2 separate regions of the Homo sapiens genome follow, and region 2 is linked to region 1. The links are contacts of gene promoters, found by promoter capture Hi-C in human tissues and cell types (Jung and others, 2019). All regions are on one chromosome and are shown on one strand. The core of a region is centred on a gene start or on the middle of the fragment in contact, and the rest is flanking DNA. Distances in the headings are between cores, read along the strand shown. Region 1 holds the start of TBC1D15 (TBC1 domain family member 15). Region 2 overlaps LGR5 (leucine rich repeat containing G protein-coupled receptor 5).

Region 1 (5,799 bases), core at 1,014-3,513:
GCATGAGCCACCGTGCCCAGTTAGATTCTGCATTTCTAACAAGCTTTCAACTGATGCTGGTGCTGCTGGTCTGTACACATACACTTTGAGTAGTAAAGGCTTATACTTTTTTGATGTATGATTAGCTCACTCAAGTCAGAAGTCCAGTGGCAGTGGACACAGGGACTAGAGTTTAGGAAAGAGAGACTTGGGCTGGGAATATTTGGGAGTCATCAGTACATAGGAGATTTTGATGCCAGAATATGAGGATAACGGCCCAGGAATAGTGTTTGGAGAAAAAGGAAGAGAGGCCCAAGGCCAGCCCATGGGTAGCGCCATTATTTAAGGCACACTTGTAGGATGAAATTTAAGAAGGTCAAGAAGTAGCAGATGAACCTGAGATGCCAATGATGCTTTTCAATGAGAAGCCTGTAGTTCTCAAACTTATATTTTAAAATATAAGTAATAACTACATTTATTGAGCCTTTTATTCCTGGCACTGTGCTAAGGGCTTCAAATTTTCTCTAAAACACAGGGTGTAAGAAATGTGATGTCACATTAAAATTTTTCTCTAACCACATCCCAATGCTCTGAGCTGGTGGAAAATGTAATTTGGGTCATCAGTAGGATTTTCCACTCCACACCCAAGATTATATGAAGGTTCTAGGGGTCTTAGTCTCAGTCCAGTACATTTGGAAAAGGCCCTCTAGTCTTCACTCAATGCTGATTACTGCTAATATTCTCATTTTCCCACCTCATTCATCCCTTGTAGGTGAGCTGCTTTCTTGATTCCCTGCCAAGCTTGGGCATAAGGGTCTTGGTCATGGTTGGAATCTCAGATACCTAGCACGCAATCTCCCTAATATGCTACGCATTCATTCCCACCTAAGGTTCCACCACTTTCCTCACCTATTAGGTTCCTGGTAGTCACATAACCGGCAACTCTCCTTTTCTGTCGTTCAGCTAGTTGCCACCTACCTCAACCAAACTCAAAAGCCTCTAACCCCTCTCCACTGTGTGAAGACGGAAGTACCTCAATGGACACAAGTGTTTTTGGTGAAAGGGACTTTTTATTCTGCCCCGGAGCTAGGGAAATCCCAGATCTGTGCCAGAGTTATCAAGGGGGTAGTATATAATCATTCTCTGCATTCTTTTACAGCACTGAGAACAAGTAAAATTCTTACCTTAGTATCTTTACAAATCATTTTACCACACATGTATTGTCGTATGAAATCCCTACAACCACTCCATGCAGGAGTAATTCCCAGTTTACATCCTGAAGCTCTGATAAATTTAGAAACCTGCTTTAAGTCACAGAGCTAATAAGTAATGTGTAGGTGCTATAAACTATGTGCCTTGGGCTCTGCAGCTATGAGGGCGTGGTATTATCACAGTTCCTATCGAAATACCTTGCTGGAGGTCATGTGTGAGTGGCAGTGACCAGACAAATAGAGAAACCTCATATACAGAGGGGAAAAGTCTCCATGTATAGTGCCTGGGATATCTCCATGTTAGTGCTGCTCTTTCTTGGATCTTCACCGCAACGCCACTATCTTGATTTTACTATAAGAAACTGAGGTTTCGAGTGCACTGGTGATTTGCCTACTGCCACAAAACCAGGCTAATGGGCTGGGCGCGGTGGCTCAAGCCTGTAATCCCAGCTCTCTGGGCAAAGGCTGAAGCGGACGGATCACCTGAAGTCAGGAGTTCGAGACCAGCCTGGGCAACATTGGCGAAATCTCGTCTCTAATAAAAATTTAAAAATTAGCTGGGCGTTTGACGCGCGCCTGTAATCCCAGCTACCCGGGAGGCTGAGGCTTGAGAATCGCTTGAACCGAGTGGCGGAGGCTGCAATGAGCCGAGATCGCGCCACTGCACTCCAGCCTGAGCGACAGAGCGAGACTCCTTTTCTACAACAACAACAAAAAACCAGGACAAATCTTGCTGGCTTCCAGTATGGTATTCGTTTCATCTCACCAAACTGGCGTGGCCTGCGCTAGCTTCAGAGTCTCGACAAACTCCAATACAAGTAAGGTACACATTATTTTAGCAGTCTTCCTTGGGGAGGACGTGGGGCAAGCACAAGCGTAGCGTTAGGCCTGAGACTCCACCCCAGCCGTCTCTGAGCCCAGTTCAGCACGCACGCGTCAGGCGGCTTTTTTCCGCCCGGCTCCTTTCCTCCACTCCCTTCCCGCCACTCCCCGCCCTTTTCCCGCCCGGATGTTATTCTAGTTTTGCCGGATGTTGTTGTATGTCCGAGAGACACGTGAGGTTCTGCTACGTCATTACCAGGCACGCGCAGGAAACATGGCGGCGGCGGGTGTTGTGAGCGGGAAGGTAGGTAACGGCCTCCAGGAAGACCTCGGCTTTTCTCTGGGACGGGGATGCTTTTGCTCCCTGGCAGCTGGTTGGGGGAGGGACACGAGGGACTTTCTGTGTCCGGACAACCCGTGGCGTCTGTAGGAGAAGACTGGGTGGTACCAGCTGGTTTCCCGAGAATGCCAGTTCAGCCGCGGAGTTATAGAGCCGGCTACTGCTCCAAGGCCAGCTAGGCCTCGGCGCTCTTCTGCCCCAGAGCAGAGAGGCTTTTATTCGTATTACCTTTACTAAGGGACAGGTGGCTCTCTAGTTCCTTTTTTCCCCCGATTCACTGTTTCTTGACTCTAGTTCTTTATGTCTACTCTTCTGACTCCAGCGTCTTTTCTCTCTTTGAAGCGTTAACCCGACTTGCCTCTGTCTTCTTTGCTACAGTTTGGTGAAGATGTTTATGCTTCCTTCGGGAGGAGCTGAATAGATGCTAGGCAGCTAGCTGTGCGCTTAGAAGAAACGAGTGTATTGGGTCTGTTTTTACCAAGCTGCTGAGTTGGTTGGTGGTTGTGAGCAGCAGGACGTGTTTCCTGAGAGAAATGGAGATTTACACCATCCTGTGCTTGTCTAGGAAGGCGTCCAAATATTTATTTCCTAGGCATTTCAGTAGGAGTATTGGTCATGCTGGTTTACGGAGGTGGTCAGTGACACGCCTAATTTCGTTGGAAACTAGAATTACGTGCGGAGATTTCGTCGAATAGTGCCTATTCGCGTTCCGAGGGCACATCTTATGCATAGTTAGGGCTATCAGCTTTATGATATGCCACCGATAGTATTTCCCAGTGCAGGAGTATTTCATAAACAGCTGGAATCAACTGAAGTGACTCATCGAACACTAATGGTTGTTTACTCATTGCAGATAGCGTCCTCTGTTCCTTGAGTTTCACTCATGTCTCCCTGTTGCTTTCCCTACCCCATTTTGAATTATTTGACAGCGTTTGTGGTTTGGTGTTTGGAGTATTAGACTAGGCGGCTGAATGACAAATATGGGCTTGGTTTTGCTGTTAATCTGAAGTATGACCTTGGAAAATTGGGCAATTGTGACTTTTGTCTTTTCGCGTTCTTTATCTGTAGAATGGAGGAGATGCCAATCATTATTTCTTGTATTGGAGTTGTTAGGGTTATATAAATTTTTTTTTAAAAAAACATAAAATTACACACTTGTACCTACTGGCTCTTTTAAAGGATAGGTGGGCATCCTTTTTTGGATTATTCGTGCTCCTTGGTTGTCTTGTCAGTTTTTTTCTTTTTATATTCAGGGTGGATGCTGATATACTGCTTGACTTACTGCGTATTTGAAGATTATCCTGTTTGATTTTCCATCTAAACTGATCCAGGCTGGGACTTTTCAAGAGGGGATCCCTTCCGTTTAAACATCTCCCTCTTTCAGGTTTGGATTGATTTTGAAAGAATCCTTGAGGCAATGAAGCAGAGTTGTGAAATGAAAAACATTTTTCACTCTTTGCAGCCACTACCTTTCATAGTCTGACTTCTTAAAGTGAGACTTATATTTAGTAATTCTGCTTCATAACCTCATTTATTCTCATTCACTGCAAATTCACATCTATTGCCATCACTCCACTGAAACTAGTTTTCCATGCCAAAAGCTGCTCCTCTCCCAAGTAATACTATCATGACCAACAAAACCCACTTGTTCTTCTCTCAGTAAGTTCAGATCTGGTTTAATGGCATCATCTTTCACCTGGTTGCATGTTAAACATACTTGGAGGCATTCATTCCTATAACACTCTCTAATCAATAACCATGTCCTACCAGTTTTACCTTAAGAGGTTTCTTAAATTTACTGCATCTTCTTTACTATCAGCGCATAGTTCAGGCTTTTAGTCTGCTTCTATTCTTGATTTCTTGGCTGATTTTACTCCTTTTCTACAGTCTCTGCCCTTAATCTTCTCTACACCACCACTGGAGTTATTTTTCTAATGCGCAAACCTGATAATCTCTTGATTTAAAAAGCAAATGAAAACTCTTCACTTTTTTATCGTCAGCATAATAATAATAATAATGAAAGCTGGTTAATGTAACATAAAAAGACATGATACCTTTATGCTTCCCTACTTCCTAATCTTTTTTCTTTAGGAAAGGGGATGGGGAGAAAATGTGTGTGTGTGTTTATTTATTCATCTCCCCTCTCCCTTCAAGTTTTAGCTAAGAGTTCTAGTTTAGAAATCCAGGGGAGTGAATGTTAACCAAGGCTCACAAAAATCACTCGTGATACTTTTTAATAAAAGTACAGATGGTGGGCTACCAGCTCTGTTGAATTAGAGTCTCTCAGTGTCTCCACCTAGGATGTAACTTTTCTTAAAACTCTACTTGCTTTGAACTTGGAGTTTCGGAAAGTGATGGAGGAAGTTAATCTCTGTCTTGTAGGGAAGCAGCAAAAGGTAATGGTTAAGAGCTTGGTCTCTGAAACCAAACTAGTTTCAGAAATTATCTCCACACATTTACAAGCGACTTCAGTAAAATTACTTAACCTCTCTGTGCTTCAGTATCCTCATCTGTGATATGATAACAGTACCTACTTTATTCTTGGTATGAGGATTAATGAGTAAATATATTAGAAACTGTAGACTGAACTAATCATCATGAGGTCAGATCCTGAAATGTTTCATCTGCCCCTAACATAGATTCTGGCACATAATAGGTATTCAGTGAAGAGGAAGAAGCAAGAAGGTATGAGAAAATGAGGAACCAGGTGCCGTGGCTCAGGCCTGTAATCCCAGCACTTTGGGAGGCTGAGGTGGGAGGATCACTTGAGCTCAGGAGTTCAAGACCAGCTTGGGCAACATAACTAGACCCTGTCTCTATGAAAAATAAAAAAATTAGCTAGTTGTGGTGACATGTGCCTGTTGTCCCAGCTACTTGGGAGGCTGAGGTGGGAAGATTGCCTGAGCCTGGGACTTGGAGGCTGCAGTGAGCTATGATGGTGCTACTGCACTCCAGCTTGGGTGACAGACCAAGACCCTGTCTCAAAAAAAAAAAAAAAAAAAGAAAAGAAAAAGAAAATGAGGAGGGATTAGAGTGGGAGAAATGGGTCCATTAATAGCTCTTTTGTTTCAGAGTTGTAAAATCCTATTGTAGTACACTTCATTCACTCTAGGTTTTCCTGTTAGTGTATTAGAATTTCTTTCTATTGAAAATTACTGGCCGGGCACGGTGGCTCATGCTTGTAATCATCACTTTGGGAGGCTGAGGTGGGTGGATTACTTGAGGTCGGGAGTTTGAGACCAGCCTGGCCAGCATGGTGAAACTCTGTCTTTACTAAAAATACAAAAGCCGGGCATGGTGGTACACGCCTGTAGTCCCAGGTACTCAGGAGGCTAAGGCAGGAGAATCGCTTGAAACCAGTGCAGTGAGCTGAGATTGTGCCACTTGTTCAGACTGGGCGAAGGGCATACTGTGTTTCAAAAAATGAAAAAGAAAATTACTTGAAAC
Region 2 (5,410 bases), core at 757-3,256, 390 kb before region 1:
GCAGAGTTGGTGTGACAAGAATGAATTTTTACATATAATAAACATGATCTTCAGTTTTTTTCTTTCTTCCTTATGCATTTTCCTCAAAGTAAAGGAGTTCTGATGTAGCAACAAAAGGTAGCAATCATAAATGAGTTAGAAGATCGGAATCAAGAAATAGCCTGTGTAGTTAAACAACATCATGTTTTGATAATAGACCAGTCACACTTGGGTGTGTTTAAAGAAGTTTAGAAACACAAAACTGGTCTATGATTTCTGAGAGTTAAGTATTTTATCTGAACTATTTTATTGTTTTCAGTTTTCAAAATATATATCTATCAAAGGCATAGAAATTTCAGACCAAACAATTAACCCAATAAAGCTATCAAAATTAAAGACATTATAGAATATTTATAATTTTATAACTGATACTTAATTTTGACTTACCTTAGCAAAGCATTTTTTTATATTTCTTCTATCAAATTCATGGATTTAAGTCATTTTAGCTACAAATTTAAGTATGTTTCTGAATGATCTAAATCACAGGCCATAAGACAGAAATGAAAAACAGTAGTGGGTTGTCCAATGAGCAATTTTGTGAAGTAATGTTTTTGTTTGGTTCAGTTATTATGCAAATTTAGAATAAAGCTAAATGGCACATTTTCTTGTAAACACTTCCTCAATAGATACTTCTGGTAAACTGAAGTCTTCATGAGAAGACAAATTCCTTCCTATAAGATTCAAATTCCTCACTCCAGTTGCAATATTTTCCTTTATAGAGCCTCATTTTGTAGTAGAGAGATGAATCAGACTGGCACTAAAGCCACAACTGGTATATTACAAATAAAACAAAATGAGCTGAGTATCTAGTCCTGTTGCTATTTTTGATGTATCTTGGTAGAATTTCACTTGTTAAATCGGCCCATGAGTTCTAGCCCACTGCAACTCTTTCATTCCCAGATCTGTCAGCTTTAATCCACACTTTAATTTAACCATTGTAAATAACCAACTACATGCCCAATTTCACCTATGGAACTCTATGCCAAAAGGAGACATTTCATAGTCTATAATGTGGAATTTTTAATTAAATTCTCATAATTCAAAACTGATTTTGTTATCCATAAGTTATATGGTGGGAAGCAGGTCCGTTCCTAAAATCTGTGGCATTTTTCTGTTTAATGGATTAAGCCCAATGGGAATGCCTGGCTTGAAACTGGAACGGAGAAAAACGTTAGTCATTTGATTTCAAGAAATGGAATAATGTATCTAGTGGTAATGCTAAAAGGCTCTTAACAGGATGTTAGCATTAGTGGAAAACTATTCAAAAGATGTTTCATAAGCAGAAGTGCTTCCGTATATCCTCATGTATTACTTCTCTTTTTAATGTTTAAGTCTGGAATTGGAGACGCTGAGATTTACTTGGAGAGTATGCAAAGGAACCAACTCCTGACCGTGTAAACAACTTCCTGAAAGTCAGATGGAATAACACCCTAGGGTTTCATGGTGGGCTCTTTCCTTCAGGGCTTATTCTTCTTCTTTGGCTGTGAGCTCCTCCAGGGTAGGGCATTTTCCACTTTATACCCCAAGTGCCCATACCAATGCCTGGCTCTTAAGGGAGTTCAGTAAATACCAGTAATGTTGAATTGAGTAGAATTGGCTGAACCAGCTGCTGAAATCCCAGTGGCTAATAGGAGTCAGAGAAAGACAGGTGAGAACTACTAGTCCGCAAGTACAAACAACACAAGGCCACTGGCCACAATTATTGTCCAGCCCCATTTGAAATACAGCTGAATTGTGTTCAGTTTAAATGATGCAATGAGTTGTTTATTTTAACACATGCCATGATTTACATGTATAAATTACTTTATTATTGTAATAGCAATAGTCATAATAACTGATAGTTGTATTGTGTTTCCTAAGTGTTCGGCACTAAATACTTCACTCAGTCATAGGCCCCACAAAGATACTAAATACTTTACTCAGTCAATACCCCCCTTGTGGTGGGGCAACTTGTGACGTTAGGAATGATAATAGTACCTCTTATTAGGTAAGCTTACTGTAAGCTTATTTCAAGTATTTCCATTGCTCAAAATATTTTTGGATTTCCTTTGAAGTTATCTTCAGGGCCAGTTTACAGCAACCCAAGAAAACAGGCTTTCCAATTTATACTTATGCCTTGTAATCATTTTAATTGGTGCTGAAATGTTTTGGCCCATTTTTCTTTTCAGGAACACAATTTATGAAGCCCTAATACCAGAAATATTTTTTCAGGGAATTCCAGAGCAAAATGCAGTTTTCAATTTTCCAATAATGTGAGCATTACATTATATAGTTTAGGGCCAATATTACAAATTTAGTAGACATCTTTTTATATATCCATTTTCTTACTACCACAGAAACAATTTTTCTTGTCTTCAAATCAGAGATAAGTTGCAGTAGCTGCCAGAGTATTGTGAAGAGGGATCAATAGATTAGTAACCACCTAGGCAAGAATAAAACTTTTTTCCTATAACCAGATCTATGTGTCAAATTAAGTAGCTGCATTCTTTGGAACTATTTCTCAGTTCAGACAGACATGAACTTTCTTAACAGGCAAATTCTATTTGAGCTTGTATTCACCTTTAAAATGGATGAGATGCGATACATTGTTGTCACGAAGGTATCAGAATGTTATTCATTTGATTCACAATAGAAAATTGTTTCAAAGTTTTATCAAATCCCCCAACATATTTTTAAACTTTGCATGCTTTGACAATTAGTGATACAGACTTATGTGTCAATTAGAAATCTGCATAAGTCATAGAAAAGTCCCCTCCTTCAAATAATGAAAAACCTTTTCTGAACTATGCATTTAATTTCCTCAGTCCCTTGATTCAGCTTATTAACCTGATATACATTAATCATTTATTGTATTACAAAGTCAACAGAAAAAACAGTACTGATGTTTAGAAAAATTAGGATATGTTTGGGGTACAGTCTCTAGAATGTTTTAAAATAGTACTCTCATACTCCAGCTTTTTACTGACTTAACAATTTATTCAACAATCTCTAATTTTCAAATGTCCTATTTTTTCTATATGCACATTTTCCACACACTCATTTTATCCTTCTTGCCTTCAGAAGGAGTGTTTGCTTCTTCTTCAAACAAGGACTGTGATGGCCAAGGGGGAAGAAAGTGTCTCGTGCACACTAATACACACACCAACAAGAAACAATTCCCTTTGTGCCACTTGCTTGGCAGAAATGATACAAACATTGGCAGGGCATAGCCGTGAAGGGCCGACCCTTTACAAGGGAGAGACTGTGGAACTGGCTGCTTGAAGGCACCTTCAGTTCGGTTCAGAAACTGAAATGCAGAAGACAATCGTCCTGGCAAAGGGAGCCCAACTCCAGCTGAGAACGCGTGCATGGAGCTGACCTCCCTCCTCAGCCTGCCAGGCGAAATTAAGCTTTCCTCAAGTGGTCCCTTGTTAGCCTGTCCTTTTTTCCGTGTTGCTCATCTTTCACAACTAGAAGCCAAGTGTTTCAAACTGTTCCTCAGTTTGCAGCCAAATTCCTTTATTTCCCCCTTCCTCCTCGTCTCCCTCACACACACACAAACACACACACACACACACACACACACACAAACTGTGGTGACTAACCTTACATGCGTGCCTTCTTTTCAAAGCCTACACTGAGAAAATAACCTTAGAATTTTTAAGTTTCACTGAAACACTGGTAAATACTTTTGTTCTCCTTTTTTCTTGAAACCTTGATTAAGTGGAGCAGAGACCTCTACAAAAGATGTCGATTTGTAAAAATAACCTTTCTTTAATCAAAAAAGCCACAAAAGTGTACTTCTCAGGAAAGTAGAAAACCACACATGATCTCAAGTGGAAAAAATATAAAGAATTTGCTGAATTTTTAACCTTAGTACATAACAAGGATATTATTTTAAAGTTGGTTGGTTAATGTGGGCTGTGTTAGAACTTCCAATGTGTTGTGTTTGGGTTGATGCAATGTTATTTTAATGAGTTTATTGGTTCGATGCACAAAACACCACATGGTGCTTGAAGGTTTTAGGTTATAAATTTTCTCGTGAGGCACTTACTTGAAGGAACTCTGTTACATAATCAATTGGTCTTTAAATCTATCCGCACAAAATACAACCTTTCAGTTTTTTACATATATGGTTGTTATTATGTGATTATGAAAACCAAATAAAAATTTCCATAGAAGATGTTATATTCCTTAATGAACTATTTTGTATATATATTGAAGTTTTCACAATAAACATTTATTTCACAGTATTTGTTGAGTGAATCTACAAAGTGAATTTGGAGTCTTCTAGTAAAGACTGAGAATAAAGGATCTTCCTCTTTATTTTGTCTTTGTACTTCCTGTCCTGAAGGGACCCTTAGCAGACATGCCTGCATTTGGCAATAGGCCTACTCTATCATTGTTACAGTGTTAACTGTACAATAGAGAAAAGCCTAGAAAAAGAATGGCAAGAGAGGTGGAAGGGCTAATGGAAGAAATTTGCGACCCAAGGGACAGTGCTGACGGAACTGAGAGACTGTGAGTTACTGGACTCCACTAGACACCTGTTCCCAGGGGATACGCTTCTCCTGTGTCTCTCTTTGCCTTTCTCCATCCCTCGCTTCAAGATAGTATCAGAGAACTGAAAGGATGCCTTTTCCTTATCTCAGACACTTTTCCCACCAAGGGCGTCAAACTAGAAGATGAAGGGAAGTTTAGAAAAAAGAGTCCTTGGGATTTAAGTATCAACTCCAGTCACCAAAATTGGGGTCTCTGATTTTAATTTGGAAAAGCTACATTACTGTTCCTGTGGTGGAAGATCTTAACTCATGCGCAGCCCCTGTTCTTCAGCAGCTGTTGTTCTCTGGGACTCAGTGCAATATAGTACAGGAGGAAGTTCAAGATCTTTTTTTATTGAGTCTTCAAGCTTGGGTAGCAAAAGGAAATCCTAGTTAAACCAGATTCTCCCAGGATGTGAGCATATCTCATTTGAAGATCTTAAAAGGTCTAGCGGCATGATTAACTGACAGCAAGTGTCCACCTTCCACCTCCCAGCTGCTGGCCTTCCAGGAAAACATCTACTTCCCTAGAGTCTGATAGTCATAAGTGTTAGGTAGATATGTTCTGGTCCTGAATGACTACTACATAGTAATTTGAAGCCCTCTTTGCCTTAGCTGTATGAACATTTCAGAATATAATTAGTTGTATATTACAAAGGAAAGCAAATTTGGGGAGATTTATGTTAATTATAATAAACTTAATTTAGAGCTTGAGCTAATACCTAACTACATTTAGAGTAAGTTCTGTGAAGAACTAAAAGGACAATCTTTTATCCACAAATTACCAGAATGACTAAGCTGTATATCTAAGGTCACATTACACAATGCAAGACTGAAATTTAATCGTGATT

The links. The method cuts DNA at HindIII sites, captures the fragments that hold promoters and counts their contacts. A contact is called where the count stands out against the background at its distance.
Region 2: a fragment that was not itself captured here is called in contact with the fragment with the promoter of TBC1D15 in region 1 in 1 of the 25 tissues and cell types used here (liver).

Annotation. Positions count from the first base shown.
Region 1 is chr12:71,837,496-71,843,294 of GRCh38, forward strand. It overlaps TBC1D15 (TBC1 domain family member 15), which reads left to right and starts at 2,264. Exons shown (of 17, transcript NM_001146213.3): 1 at 2,264-2,316. The coding sequence starts at 2,287. The HindIII fragment of the contact is 9,599 bases long and covers 412-5,799 here.
Region 2 is chr12:71,444,507-71,449,916 of GRCh38, forward strand. The region is part of intron 1 of LGR5 (leucine rich repeat containing G protein-coupled receptor 5); the gene reads left to right. The region is part of intron 1 of LOC124902962 (a long non-coding RNA gene); the gene reads right to left. Among named protein-coding and RNA genes, the nearest start is that of LGR5, 7.4 kb to the left of the region's middle. The HindIII fragment of the contact is 4,341 bases long and covers 1-4,177 here.